Linked DNA regions of Homo sapiens: region 1 is linked to region 2. Evidence: promoter capture Hi-C in 16 types of primary human blood cells and fetal thymus (Javierre and others, 2016). All regions are on one chromosome and are shown on one strand. The core of a region is centred on a gene start or on the middle of the fragment in contact, and the rest is flanking DNA. Distances in the headings are between cores, read along the strand shown.

Region 1 (7,293 bases), core at 677-3,176, 1.8 Mb after region 2:
GGAGTTCAGGTCTTCAGGACATGTAGACCCTGGAAAAGAGCGTGTATTTTTATTCTAAATGGTATAGGAAGCCACTAGGGATGGGGAGTGGTGTATTCATCAGCTACTGCCAAAATACTGCCGCATAACAAACAACCTCAAAATTTCAAGGGTTCACAAGATCAAATATTTATTTTCCTCACTCACTAGTCTAAGAATTGGTTGAGGTTGGCCTGATATTGACTGGGTTTGCTGAAAATGGCTCCAGGGTATAAGTCAGATTCAGGTCTGTTTCATCTATCTCATTCTGCAGCCCAAGCTGAAGAAAAGGCATTGGCTATGGGAAAAATGCAGGAGTACAAAGCCAATCATGCAAGCACATCTCAAGACTCTGCTCACATCATGTTGACTAATATCCCATGAAAAAAAAAAATTACAAGGCCAAGAGCCAAAAATCCAGGAGCAAGAAAGTTCATTTCACTGCTCATGAGGCCATGGCAAGGGTGCTGATATCTAGTATTACTACAATGCACTTTAGCAGGCCTAAAGTCCTGGAGTGTACTGGAGTGTAGTGGCATGATCATGGCTCACTGCAGCCTTAAACTCCTGGGCTCAGTTGATCCTCCTGCCTCAGCCTCCCAAGTAGCTGAGACTACAGGCATGCACCATCATTCCCAGCTAATTTTTAAATTTTTTGTACAGGCAATGTCTTGCTATATTGCCAAGGCTGGTCTTGAACACCTGGCCTCAAGCAATCCTCCTGCCTTGGCCTCCCAATGCACTAGAATTACAGGTGTGAGCCACCATGCTCAGTCCTGTTGTACTTTAGACCCAACTACGTCAGCTTTCTGCTGACCCTGCTTTGACAAATGCCCAAACCACCCATGGTTCATCATATCAAAACGATGTCCTTGGACAAATCACATGCTGGTTTGCACCATCTTAGCTCTGGCTTTCCTGAGCATTTTGGCTTCTTAGAGTAGCCCCCCTCCACCTCTCCTTGTGGATGGATACAGATTATGGCCCTTCCCAGTAGCCTTCTGAGACGTGGTGCAGGGTTCCAGTTCATAGCAGCTGGAGTCAGGGCTGGAAGGAGCAGCGGGAGTGTTTTCCTTGGCAGGTTTCTGGCATGCACACGTTCCTAGTATTAAAATACAATGTGCTTTTTCCAAACTAGATGATCTACACCAACCATTTTATCTGTAAACTAGCCCTCTACCCACCCACCCTCAACTCTGGTCTTGGAACTATTTGAAGGGGGGGGAAAAAGAGGAGGAAGAGGGAGGAGGAGAAGGAGGAGGAAAAGAAGAAATCTATGAGGGGGTGTGGCAGTGAGGGGGTGGATGTCTATGAAAATTTATGTGCTGAAAAACAGCTGTAAAATGTTTAATGTTTCAATGAACGTTTTATGTTTACCATAAAAAATCCTCCAGCCAAGAAGGGCTTTAAAATGTTACATTTCCAAACAGATCCACAGAAAGAAGCAAAAAAAAAAAAAAAAAAAAAAAGGATTTCCACAAACCCCTCTCTATGGAGTGACCCCCAAACGCTAAACATTAAAATAGGGTCCTTCTGACCTAGGTCAATGTTGAGGGAGAAAAGAATAACAGGCATGACACAGGGAGAGGCCGGCAAGAAGAATGAAAAATATGCTCATGTTTTTCAAAGCTAAGTACTCATGGCAGAAAGCCTTGGAAATTCAGGCTTTTGAAGGCAGAGGTGGAGGAAGGCGGGGAAGATGCCCAGCTCAGCCAAAAGCTTGCTGAAAGATTCAAATGTAATCAATCAGTCCACCAACAGGAAGAACTAATCAAGTGCCTTAATACTGAGTTCTTCCAGGAAAGATCCTGGCTGAAGGGACACTGGCTTTCACAGACAGAGGCATGTTCATATTCAAACTCCACTCTAAACTAGTCTTGGCTCCTATAGTCAGTTTTTTTTACCTCTTGAGATCTCCATTTCTTCATCAATAAAATGCAGTGGCAGGCGTCACTGGCCAACACTGAATAAATGGTATGTGCTGGGAAGCAGGGACTGGGGAAGCCAGGAGTCATGATGAAGTCAGCTTAGCGCAGCCTGAATCAGGTAGGGAAATTAAGACCTGACATAGGAGGAAACAGAAAACGTTGAAGCTTGGAGGAAAACTAGAGTGTTGCTCTTCTTTGCTTACCCAATGACTTTAGTGAAGTCACCATGTGGGTCTTCAGGCCAACCAACCAGTTTTACTTTTTAATCTCCCTTGTAATTAATATTTTCCACACTGTTTTCGGGTAATAGAAATGCAGTGCAGGCTGGTAATAGAAATACACAGTGGCTCACGCCTGTAATCCCAGCACTTTGGGAGGCCGAGGCAGGTGGATCACTTAAGGTCAAGAATTCAAGACTAGCCTGGCCAACATGGTGAAACCTCATCTCTACTAAAAATACAAAAATTAGCCAGGTGTGGTGGCAGGTGCCTGTAATCCCAGCTACTCGGGAGGCTGAGGCAAGAAAATTGCTTGAACCCAGGAGGCAGATGTTGCAATGAGCCAAGACTGTGCCACTGCACTCCAGCCTGGGTGAGAGACAGATACTCCGTTTCAAAAAAAAAAAAAAAAAAAAAAAAAAAGCAGTGTGGACCATGGGCCCTTCCTAATCTGGCCCCTTCAAGCGTCTTCTGCATATAATGATCATGCAGTCACTATAAAAAAGCAAACAAATAAAAATGAAACGTCACATGTACCTTCTGAGACACACCTTGCAGTTATAGCCTATGTGTTTCTAAAGTCCTGTGCCTTCAGCTTACTATATCCTTCCTTAAGCCCTGTCTTTTCACAAACTCTTACCCAGCTCTCAAAACTTAGTTCAAATACCACCTTTACGGACCTTCTGATCTGTATCAAATGCCTGTTTACTGTGTTCTCAGAGCACACGCTGCTGTGGTGTACCCCAATACTCTTCATACCACATCCAGACATTCATTATGTTACTGGAGGAGGGCGTCCAGGTTCTTGGCGTTTTGAATAAAGAATTGGACAAAACGCATAAACAAAGCAAGGAAAGAATGAAACAACAAAAGTAGAGATTTACTGAAAAGGAAAGTACACTCCAAACGGTGGGAGCAGCCCAAGCATAGAGGCTCAAGAGCCTGGTTAAAGAATTTTCTGGGGTTTAAATACCCTATAGAGGTCTCCCATTGGCCACTTGGTGTACACCTCATGGAAATGAAGTAATGGCCCACAATCAGTCAGATTGGTTGTGGAAAGAAGTTACACTCCTATGCAAATGTCTGATAGGTTGTGAAAAGCAACCAATCAGAGGGTGAAGCGAAGTTACAAAGTTACAGCTCCTATGCAAACGGCTGAATGGTCGTGGAAAGCAACCAATCAGGGGTACTTTCAATTTTCCATCTGCAACTCAGAAAAGTGGGGAGGGGTTGCAGAGGGAGTAGCCTCTGGTCCTTTTATAACTTAGTTGTGGAAAGTTGGTGTTTTCCTTTTGATTTAATTATACAAAGTCAACGTGAATCAGCCTTAGATTCCCTGCCTCCAGATCCTGTTCTCCTGCCTCACTTACTTTTCTAATTTCTTCTCTAAATGATGCTTCTTGAGGGTAGACACCGAATCCTCATCATCTCAGGACACAGTACAAAATACAGCATGAAGCAGATCCCTGGGAAGATTCTGTTTGAGAATCAATGAGTTAAGAAACAAATGACAGCAAACACAGTCTTCTTTCTAGATTGGCAAATGAGGGAATACTGGTCTCTGAGGGATACACAGGGCCAATCTCCTCACTGTCACCTTGCACTCAGAGAGATAAGATGGCTTTTGCTCTCCAGTGCAGAAAGAGTGGCCTCCTCTGCCAGCATGAACCTTGCCTGGGAACTGATATCAATAACGGCTGCAGCACACAGAGAAAGACACTCAAGTGTCTCCTCCAAGGAGAGAGACGGATGTTTCCTTCGGGGGCTGATCGGGTTCACTTCCTGTTCATGAGCACGGCAGACACCTAACCTCCCGGCTGCAGTAAGGGTTGGGACTGTATGTGGGGAGTTGGGGTACTGTGCTTGGGAGACATTAACGAGGCCCCTCTTACTCTTCCACAAGCCAGGGCCTTCTCCTTCCTCTTTTTGGGAGGCCCAGGAAGTGGCCCTTTCCTTGACCAGACCCTACACTGGGAAGCCCCCGGCTCTGACCATGAGACTCGCAATGGCTGTTCACTGGACAATTTCAAGTGAATTCCCGCAAAGTTTCCCAAGAACATCAGATACAAAAGAGTTGATGGATGGAAACTCACACGATAAACCAAAGTGAAAACAAAACTGTGTCGCCCAACCCCATGTGAACTGAAACCGCAGGGCAGAACGCTCTGACTCCGCAGACATAAACAGTTTTAGCCCCGAGTGAGTCACCAGCGCAGCCAGGGCAAAGCTGGAGAGAGATTTCTCGTGATGCGCTGGGGATCGCTGTGCGTTCCTTTCCCTAGAAACTGATTTGTCATTTGAGTCAGAGGAAAGAACATTTCTAGGGCACCTAGTACATACCAGAGGCTCTGGTCCACGCTGTAGATAAATACTTCCAACCTGTTTTCACAGTAACCTGCATAGGTGCTGACTATTATCTCCATTTGCACATGAAGACACAGAAGCCAGGGCGCTGAAACACTTAACCTGAGCCAGAGCTAGAAGTGGGGCTCTGTCCTGCTGCTGCCCTTCACCAGAGGACACCCTGAAGCCCTGATGGGTCACATGAGTCTGCGTTTTCCCTGTCCTGAGTGGTCTCCAAACTGCCTTGATCATGGACTATTATCAGTAAAAATAAGTTTTGAGCACACTCACCCCTAGTATTTGTACACTGATTTATCGACAAACGATGTACAATCTACATGTAATATTACAAAACATTGCAAGGAAAAGACATTTAAATGGGTTGAGATAAAAGATAAAGGTAAATAGGGGCTACTATGTTTTCTATCCATATCCTAGTGCTGAGGTCACAGGGTTGCCAGGTTGAAACTATACATAGACATCGTAGGGGGTGGGAAGAGAGGATAGGAGGCAGGTAAGGAGGGAGAGAGACAGAGATAATGTCCAGTTAAATGTGGAACATCCTTTTGCTAAAAAATTATCCATTGTTTATCTAAAATTAAAATTTACTTTAACATCTTACTTTATGTTGTATGTATGTATTTATTTGAGACAGCGTCTCACTCTGCCGCCCAGGCTGGAGTGTAGTGGCACAGTCTCAACTCACTGCAACCTCCGTCTCCTGGATTCAAGCAATTCTCCTGCCTCAGCCTCCTGAGTAGCTGAGACTACAGAGCACCCGCCCCATGCCCCACTGATTTCTGTATTTTTAGTATAGACAGGGTTTTGCCATGTTGGCCAGCCTGGTCTTGAACTCCTGACCTCAAGTGATCCACCCACCTCAGCCTCCCAAAGTGCTGGGATTACAGGCATGAGCCACTGTGCCCAGCCAGATATTTTGTTTTTGAGACACAGTCTCACTCTGTCGCCCAGGCTGGGGTGCAGTGGTGATCTTGGGTCACTTCAACCTCTGCCTCCCAGGTTCAAGTGATTCTCCTGCCTCAGCCTCCCGAGTAACTGTAATTACAGACATGCGCCACCACGCCAGCTATTTTTTGTATTATTAGTAGAGATGGGATCTCACCAGGTTGGCCCGGCTGATCTCGATCTCCTGACCTCAAGTAATCTGCCCACCTTGGCCTCCCAAAATGCTGGGATTACAGGCGTGAGCCACCGCGCCTGACCAGCATCCTGCAATTTTATTTGCTAAACATGGCAATGCTAAGGAGTCAGTAAATGCTTTCTGTTACAGGATTATAATAAAGATTCTAGGCTTTGTGGGATAAATGGTCTCTGTCACAACTACTCACTCTCCTACTGCAGTGTGAAGTGGCGCTAGGCAGTTCCTAACCTAACAGGCATGACTGTGTTTCAGTAAAAATTTATTGATAAAAACGAGTGGCTGGCTGGACAGGGACTTTGCTGGCCACTGCCCCAGTGGATCATCGTGGTGTATCCCACTTAGGAGACCCATGGCCTGTAAGAGAAGGGCTTGTATTTGCACAGTTCTCCAACAATGTGACATAGTGAAAAAATAAACTCTTATTTTTTCTGTGAGGGTTTCTGGTGGGGGCTGGTGAGTAGACAAAGGATGATAATGGCAACTCTTTTTATCATAGGAGTTATAAGAGGAGCAAAAGCATCTCTAAGACACGCTCATGCACACACGTACACACACAGAGTGCTGCAACCAAGATATCCACCAGGGTGGACCTGCATTTGGTGTGTCAAATTGAATGCTTCCCTTGCCCCAATTACTAGCGCTTCAATCGGCCAACTGGCAGCCATAACAACACATTAACCTTTTTGCCAAATCAATTTCACCAAGTCCCCTTCCAGCACTAGGAGAAATGAAACGGCGCCCCATGCCTGAAAGACGAGTGCTCTCTGCACACCACACACTGTGGAATCCCCCTCTACACGTGGAACTCTGAATTCTAGCTCCTAAACAGGGATCTTCTCATGGTCAGAGGGCAACGGAAATCAGTTTTCCAAGGCTGCCTTCCCTCCCTTCCGCAGCCAGCCGGGGTCCAAAGGTCCAAGCCAAAGGACGCTGCCAACCCTATTAGCAGAGCCATCTTCACAAATCACGTCAGCATTTACTGTGCTTCAAGAGAGGCTGCTTGATTTAACTCTCAGGAGCCCCCCGACGGGTAATTTCACTTAGAAGCACAGAGGACAGTGCAGGCAGCCGTCTGAGTCGCATCAGCATTGTAAGAACGCCTGAAGACTCCAGCCTTCCTGAGTCCCATTTCTTCAACTTCAGGCTGATGGTGCTGGAGCTCACTCTCTAAGAAATGGAGTTTTCAGGAGATGCAATTATTTTCAAACTCAGCAGTGCTACATGGCATGGGGCGAATGCAGAGAAGGGACCAAAGCAGGGCAGGTGGCAAAGGTGACCACAGTGGGGTCAGTTAGGTGGTCAAATGTGGTGACAGCAGGAGGCACACCACAGGGCTCGACTCCTGAGGCAATGTCTCCACCGGTGAGATAATTTAGAGAGAGTAAGTTGACTGAGTTCAATGTGTATATGCATCCTAGCAATAATAAATGCACAATTCTCTGACCCAGATTATTCAAAAACATATTTCCTGCTTCTTCTTCCATAATAAGGAATATCTGGGGTTTTTGTTTGTTTGTTTGTTTGTTTTTTGAGATGGAATCTCTCCCTGTTGCCCAGGCTGGAGTGCAATGGTACGATCTCGGCTCACTGCAACCTCCGCCTCCTGGGTTCAAGCGATTCTCCT
Region 2 (6,818 bases), core at 2,416-4,915:
TTGTAGTTTGTTACTGTAGCCAAAGGAAACTAACACACCATCTCTATGAAATCACATGGACGGCTCATCTTCGGAGCTGTGGCAGAGTGTATGCAAATACCTGGAAATAAAATCAATGCAACCAGATCCACGTACTAGGGCTGGAATGCTTCCTGGAAATATTACGCATAGTTTGTGACTTACCTGGAAGGCAGATCTTAAATCCTCTCTTCCCCCTGATTATTCAAGCTCGAAAATTTATTATGTTCTATTATCTCTCTCACTCATTTGGCCTTGAGTTGCTGGTTATAAAACAAATGTTTTAACTGTATAAATGAATTAAAAATCCTCACATTCTCATAACTATTTAATTACTATCAAGTATTGGGTATTATGCCAAGCACTCAACAATTATTGTCTCATTTAACAATGAAAACCCCCAGTAAAATAGGTTATTGTCCATTCTTAGTGGTAAGGAGTTGTAGTTCAGAATTTAAGCAGACTTTCAGTTGGTAGTTGCTTAATAAATATTTACTGATGGATTTTTCCAAGGCACTGAGTTGGTAATAGGCCAATTCCATGGTTGCACCACAAATTATGTAAAGTAGCTACTCTTATTTTAACTAATGCTCTGGAATTTCTGGCACTCCTTGCCCTTACAAATGTCTGAATTAGCAATGAAACTAGCATGAACTCTTAAGAGGTTGCCACCATAGCTGAGCGTGGAGCAATGTGCCAAAGTAAATGTGATGTGGATTCTTAACAAGGATCGTGCAGCAAGAGCAAGTTTCTGGTAAGTCTACAGATTTCATAGTTGGAAATATGTAGGGCCTTCTTATGCTATATCCACAAAGACTATATTATAAATGATATCGTTAATTCTCAAAGATTTTTAAATAAAATATGTTCAAGGAACAAGTTCCATTTAAAATAAACACTGAAATTCTGTATGGTTCATAATGTTGAAACGCAAACAACCCACCAACAATGATATTCTCCCTATCTTCTATATGATAGTTTTATTGGCACTTCTGAAATGTTGGAAGAGAATTACCAAAGCTTTAAAAAGTAAACAATGTATAGTGCTTCTTAGGAGTATATAGAGATTTTTAGACATGTCTTATTCATATTTATGCCCCCAGATCTTAGCAGAGTGTTTGGCATATAACAGATACTCAATAGATGTTTGGTAAGTGAATGCCAGAGCTAAAATATATAAATATATTTTTGATGTCAAATTCGAAGATGTTTGTCTTAAGGACTAACACGGCAAACAGGTTCCTGGTTGGCTTCTGTGTGTCAAGAAGACAGCCTGTGATATATTTACCTTCTGCATTTACAACCATAGTTCCAATAACCCCTTTATGACTCTGGATCCTCTTTAAGGTTTCCTCCACCTCTGCCTGAAAGAGACCAGGAAGATAATTAACCAAAAGGGCCCTGTGGTAACTTCAACCCTAAGGAGAATAATGTTTAGCAAGATACCTACTCTCCTATCTCCTTAACCTAAGGTGCCAGGTGTGATAATCTCAGATTTTTAAAAGACAGCTTAGAAATTGTCAAGTCCCACATAAATACCTACGTAAGACCTCCTGGATACAATCCTGATGAATCTCTTGGCTTGAACCCTTGTAGAGACAGAGAGCTTACTGCCTCACAGGAGTTCACTCCATTTTTATCTGTTTCCATTTACTAGAAAAGTATTCTTTACATTGCATGGAAATTTGTCCCAGATTATCTTTCATTCATTGACCCTGCTGTATTCAAATGAAAATTCCTTTTCTACATTACAGTGCTTTAAATATTTATAGAGCTATATCATGGCCTCCCTCTGTCTAAAAGTAGTCCTTATTGAGAAATCTTATTTTCATTAATGTGACCTAATCAGTTCGGATGATTAAATTTAAAGGATAGTCTATAAAAACAAAGTATTCCAGGATTCTAGGATTTTCTTGATAACTATAGCTTGCGTCTCAGTGCAAGCTGAATGTTCAACTATGAGTGATTATTCTGGAATCTATTATTGTGTTTTAAACTCATTCGGAATCTTATGTGTAGAGTGTATTGTATGTTTTCTTCCCCTGTAGAAAACTCAAAGACAAGAACGATCTTTTCCAAACCTGCAAATTTTTCATGACTGAGCAATCACTGGATATTTTGAATTCTGCAAATTCTCTTGATGAGGGTTTGCTATATTCTTTTTTCCTCAGTATTGCACAGGTGAACATTTTGTTACTTCAAGATAGTTTTCCTTTGTACTTGGTATGGGCAGGAGCACTTATTTTCTCTATTTCAGCATCAGAGCCAAGGTTTTCTTGACTTTAGGCATTTGTGTACTAGATTCATGATTCTTGCCATTATGAATGCCATGTATACTATTTATCTAGGTGTTCTTTAAATTATCTCACTGCTAAAAGCTTAAATAAATGCATTTTAAGAGGAAATCGTATGTCACTACCACAAATGGAAACCTGACGTTATTCCTCATAAATAGAAATAACTGTAAAACAAACAAAATGAACAAAATGAAGAGAGAGCCTATCATTAAATTCTACTGCAATGAAAGCTCTGAGCCTGAGGCCTGCTCTTCGGATGAAAAAATGGAAATTTCCAAATGACAGTGGTATTAAGGACCTAATAGCAACAGAAATTTTCTCCTGTATGTAGTCTGAAGGTTGAACAAAATGGAAGAGGAATAACTTTCTCACGATGTGATTCACTCTTATTTAGCATTTCTCGGCCATCTTATGTAGCAACGAATGTTTGCATCTGACTTTGAGAAACACTACACTAAACCGTAAGCGTTGAACAGGGGATCAATAATTCACTGCATTTTGGGCAATCTTTAAGACGATGTCCACAGCTTCTTACAGCCACTGTGTCCTTATTTATCTTTCTCCCTTTACTTATCTCCCAAACTCCTTTCTTTTCTTTCCCTGGCCTTTCCATTTCTCCACCCAGTTGTTTCTCTTCTCATGATTTGTAAGTGCTCCTAGTATAATTTCTTAATCCCCATCTCCAATCCCCGTTTCATTCTTCTCTTAACGCCCTTTGCTTTCCACAGTCTCTACTTTTTTTTTTCTTACCTCTTTTTCTGGGGGGGAGGGGGGCGGGTCTCCCATCACTTCTTTCCTTTTTCTTTATTTCCCTTTCTTCTTTCTCAGTATCTTCCCTTCTCACCCTTCCATTCCCTTGCTTTCCCTGTCCCACCTCTTCCTTCTCTCTAAGGGTCTGATTTTTTTTCCTCTCCATCTCGGCCTCCCGCCCCCTCTTTGGAAACTTTCCTGGCTCCCCGGATTTCTCACTCCCCTGAGCATTCTTCATCCTCTGAATCTCTCTCTTCCCTTTCTCAACATCACCCCTCCTTATGTACCATCCCCGCGAAATCAATTCCCAAAACAGCTTCCAGTCATCTAGACATCTTCTTGCCCCTTTCCAAGGTCTCCCTCTCGCCCCTCCAGGAAGATCCTGGAGCCACCAGCCTCCGCCGCGGCCCCTGGACCGCCCGTGCCTGGGTGGGCCCCAGAAGCTGGGTGCGAAGGTCCTTGACGGTCGGCGTGCTTGGAACGGCGGGGCGTGGACGGAGACCCCAGATTTACCATCGCGGAGGCCGCGAAACTCTGGGCTCAGGCCGGCGGCACAGCCTCCCGGGATGTCAACAACGCTACCCGCCGTTGCTAGGAGACAAAAAAGGAAGTGGCCCCACGGAAGCGTCAGGGCTGCGCCTGCGCGCTCGCGAGTCGGCTTTTTCGCCCTGACCGCGCTCCTGATGCCTCCCGGCCGCCGTAGGCGAAGGTTCGCGGAAGAGGGGAGCAGGCGCTCACCTGAGGTTCGCCCAATCCTGGAGCAGTGGGTCCCGGGAGGGAAGAGGGAAGTGGGTCAGGCTCCCGGCCTGTGTTTGTCCATTCATTCATTCATTGAGGCACGAATTAATGTGATAACCACTTATTCGTTCAAAAACTGCTGATTCACCACCCACCAGGTGCCAGGGAGACGGACAAAATGCACCAAACAAAATGCACGAAACAGTACCGGAAGCAGTAATGTCCACGTGTGATACTTGCCCTGGAGCAAGTAAGGAGGGGACAGGACCATCTGACTTCGGGGTTGGGCTGCTCTAGGGGTTTGGTGATAGTCTTAGCTGCCTGTGACCGTCCATTAGTACTGCCCTGTTCAGGGCAGATACTGTTCGCTCGCCTCCCAGTAGTTTTTATATTGAAGAAAAATATATCAGAGCATCAAATAGTACAACCTTATGTACTTAAAAAAATTACTTTCTATCTGTCTACTCTAAGATCAGTAGAGTAAGCACAGTTGCACATTTTATGTTCTCACCTAGTTATAGCACCCTCTTCCTGTTCTCAACTCCATTGAAGAGTTGCTACTTGTCAGTATTTCTGTTAGTTGTCAGTATCCATTAGGATCTGTATTTTTGCCATTTTAAAAATCAACAGTTCTGAGTTACTAAAAAATTGCAAATGGTAGTTCCGGAGGTTCTATACGTTGCCATAGAAGAGCATTCCATTGGGTGTTTAAGGAACTGTTGGAGGAAACACGTTAAAGATCAGTTAGGAATGATCAGAAGTCACTTGACCTTTTGAGGGACATTGATAATATCCTTATAGCCTAGGAGGAAAAGAGCCACTATTGTACGACGAAGCACAGCAGGAAAATTTTATGGCTGGAGTCGTGTTATGACTTCCTGAGGTTAGAGGAGGACAAATATTGATTACAAAATACAAGCTGTAAGTTGGGAATGCATCTTCATAGGGATCATGCCATAACAACTTCCTGTAATACCGATTCTGTTTGTGCATCCATTTCCAGAAAGTAGTCTCACACTGAACAAGGCATACATCGTGCTAGGAATGTCAACTGGATTCTGAATGGTCCATGTTAGGGGTGCTCTGGGACAGTTTTGAACTCATTGGCAGGCTTGGACTCGATGATCCATTTCAACTCCACATCTGTCATTTTATTATATTAACTACAGAAATACTCTGAGAAACTGTAGTTCTGCTCTAATTTTTGTTGAGGTGTGGGTGATTCTGATCACTGTAGTTCTCTCCTTTTTTTCCCTCCAAGAAATCTGTATATCTCAGCCAGTTCACTATTACTAGCCAAAGAATCCCGCTTGACTCTCAACACCTGGTACTCCAACAAAGTTGCTTTGGAAAGGACTGCTATAGCTGTGGGGAAGGAGTCTGAGTCTGGTGTGTGCGTGTGCGTGTGCATTTGTGTGCTTGTGTGTGTATGCATGCATGTGTGTACAGATCTGGCTCTTACCTGATTGACTATAGCTACCATTTTGCAGTAATACAAATAATAGGTCTTTACAGAAATACTGGCTGAGTTGAATGAAGAGTGATTCTTGGGTTCTCTGGGTGTTTCTGATCAAGGAGATTCCACTTGATTGTGTAGCCGTTTGTTTTTCTTACAAAAATCAGTGACAGTGCACCATGTCTGATATGTCAATCAGCTTTAATGAAGGAACCAACTGCATATGCATGGAGTGTGAATTTCCTTGTTTCTGGAGTCAGGATGTCAAGCTCATTCAATAGCTGACAGCTGTAATTAGAGCAAAGAACGATTCTAGCATAAAACGCACTGACGGGAGAACCCAACTGCTGAAAAAGAAATAAGAAGTAGCCAAACTGACTTCCAACCAACAGTCAAGTTTGACTCTGTGCACAGAAAATCAATGAGGAGAACTTGAGCCATTTCCCCTTTATCAATTTTTCACTTCTAATTATTCCTTGGAGGTAGCTCGGTTTAATTTTCATGCCTTTTTTGGACCTGTAATGAATATCCAGAGCTGTGCTATATAAAGTGTCTTTGCAATGTCTTACATGTTTCCTACTCCATCCCCAATATATGTGAATTCCCCTTTTACCCTCTCCTCTTTCTCCCATCCCCTCGGCCTTTCTTTTTGACTCACAATAAGTGCTAAATAACTTTGAACGTAAGTGAAAATATTAGTGAATAATAGTTTTTGCAAGTACTCTGACTTAACCCCAAAAGTGATACATGCAGAGACCAAGTCCACTATTTTTCACATATGATTTTGTTAGAAGGAGATGATTTTCTTCTGGGAGTCTCTCTTGCTGTTTGATACTTTGCTACTGCTCTCTGGTTAGCTTGAAGAAATCCAGATAACTTAATGATCTTGAGTTTTTTTTTTGGTATTTTCTATACCAACCCATATAGCTATCTTTGGCATTCTTGGCAGTTGGCAAATATTATGAACTGGGCTGTAGAATAAATTTTGTGCCCATTTTCTCATAAGGTAAGGCATTGTTTGTCACTTACCAGAACTTCTCCTGGTATTCTACTGGTTTCCCTCCAGAAAATAGACACTACATTCTTCTAACATGTTCACAGGCCAGGCATGGTGGCTTTCATCTGTAACCCCAGTGTTTTGGGAGCTGAGGCAGGAGGATTGCTTAAGGCCGGTAGTTTGAGAACAGCCTGGGCAACAAAGCAAGACATAATTTCTACTAAAAATCAAAAAAAAAAAAAAAAAAAGGCTGGGCGTGGTGGTATATGCCTGTATTCCCAGCTACTTGGGAGGCTGAGGCAAGAGGATCACTTGAGGCTGGGAGTTTGAGGTTGCAGTGAGCCACAGTTACACCACTCTCACTAGCCTGGGTGACAGAGTGAGACTTGTCTCAAATAAAAAAAGTACAATAAAATAATAAAATAAAATACTCCTTAATACTAGGGCATAATTAGAAGATACCAGTAATATCAATAAGTATTTCCTAAAACTGACCCAATGTCATAGAATTGCAGTATTATAGATTTTAAGTTTCAGAAAATCAATCATTTTCTTCTTCTTA

What was found. The method cuts DNA at HindIII sites, captures the fragments that hold promoters and counts their contacts. A CHiCAGO score of 5 or more calls a contact.
Region 1: a fragment that was not itself captured here is called in contact with the fragment with the promoter of DYNLRB2 in region 2 in 1 of 17 cell types (total B cells); the score reaches 6.9 in total B cells.

What each region holds. Positions count from the first base shown.
Region 1 is chr16:78,739,717-78,747,009 of GRCh38, reverse strand. All of the region lies in intron 8 of WWOX (WW domain containing oxidoreductase), which reads right to left. Among named protein-coding and RNA genes, the nearest start is that of WWOX-AS2, 240 kb to the right of the region's middle. RefSeq lists an enhancer at 3,985-4,244. The HindIII fragment of the contact is 374 bases long and covers 1,740-2,113 here.
Region 2 is chr16:80,537,840-80,544,657 of GRCh38, reverse strand. It overlaps DYNLRB2 (dynein light chain roadblock-type 2), which reads right to left and starts at 3,665. Exons shown (of 4, transcript NM_130897.3): 1 at 3,579-3,665; 2 at 1,307-1,382. The coding sequence starts at 3,581. All of the region lies in intron 1 of DYNLRB2-AS1 (DYNLRB2 antisense RNA 1), which reads left to right. RefSeq lists an enhancer at 3,525-3,614. The HindIII fragment of the contact is 6,420 bases long and covers 2,399-6,818 here.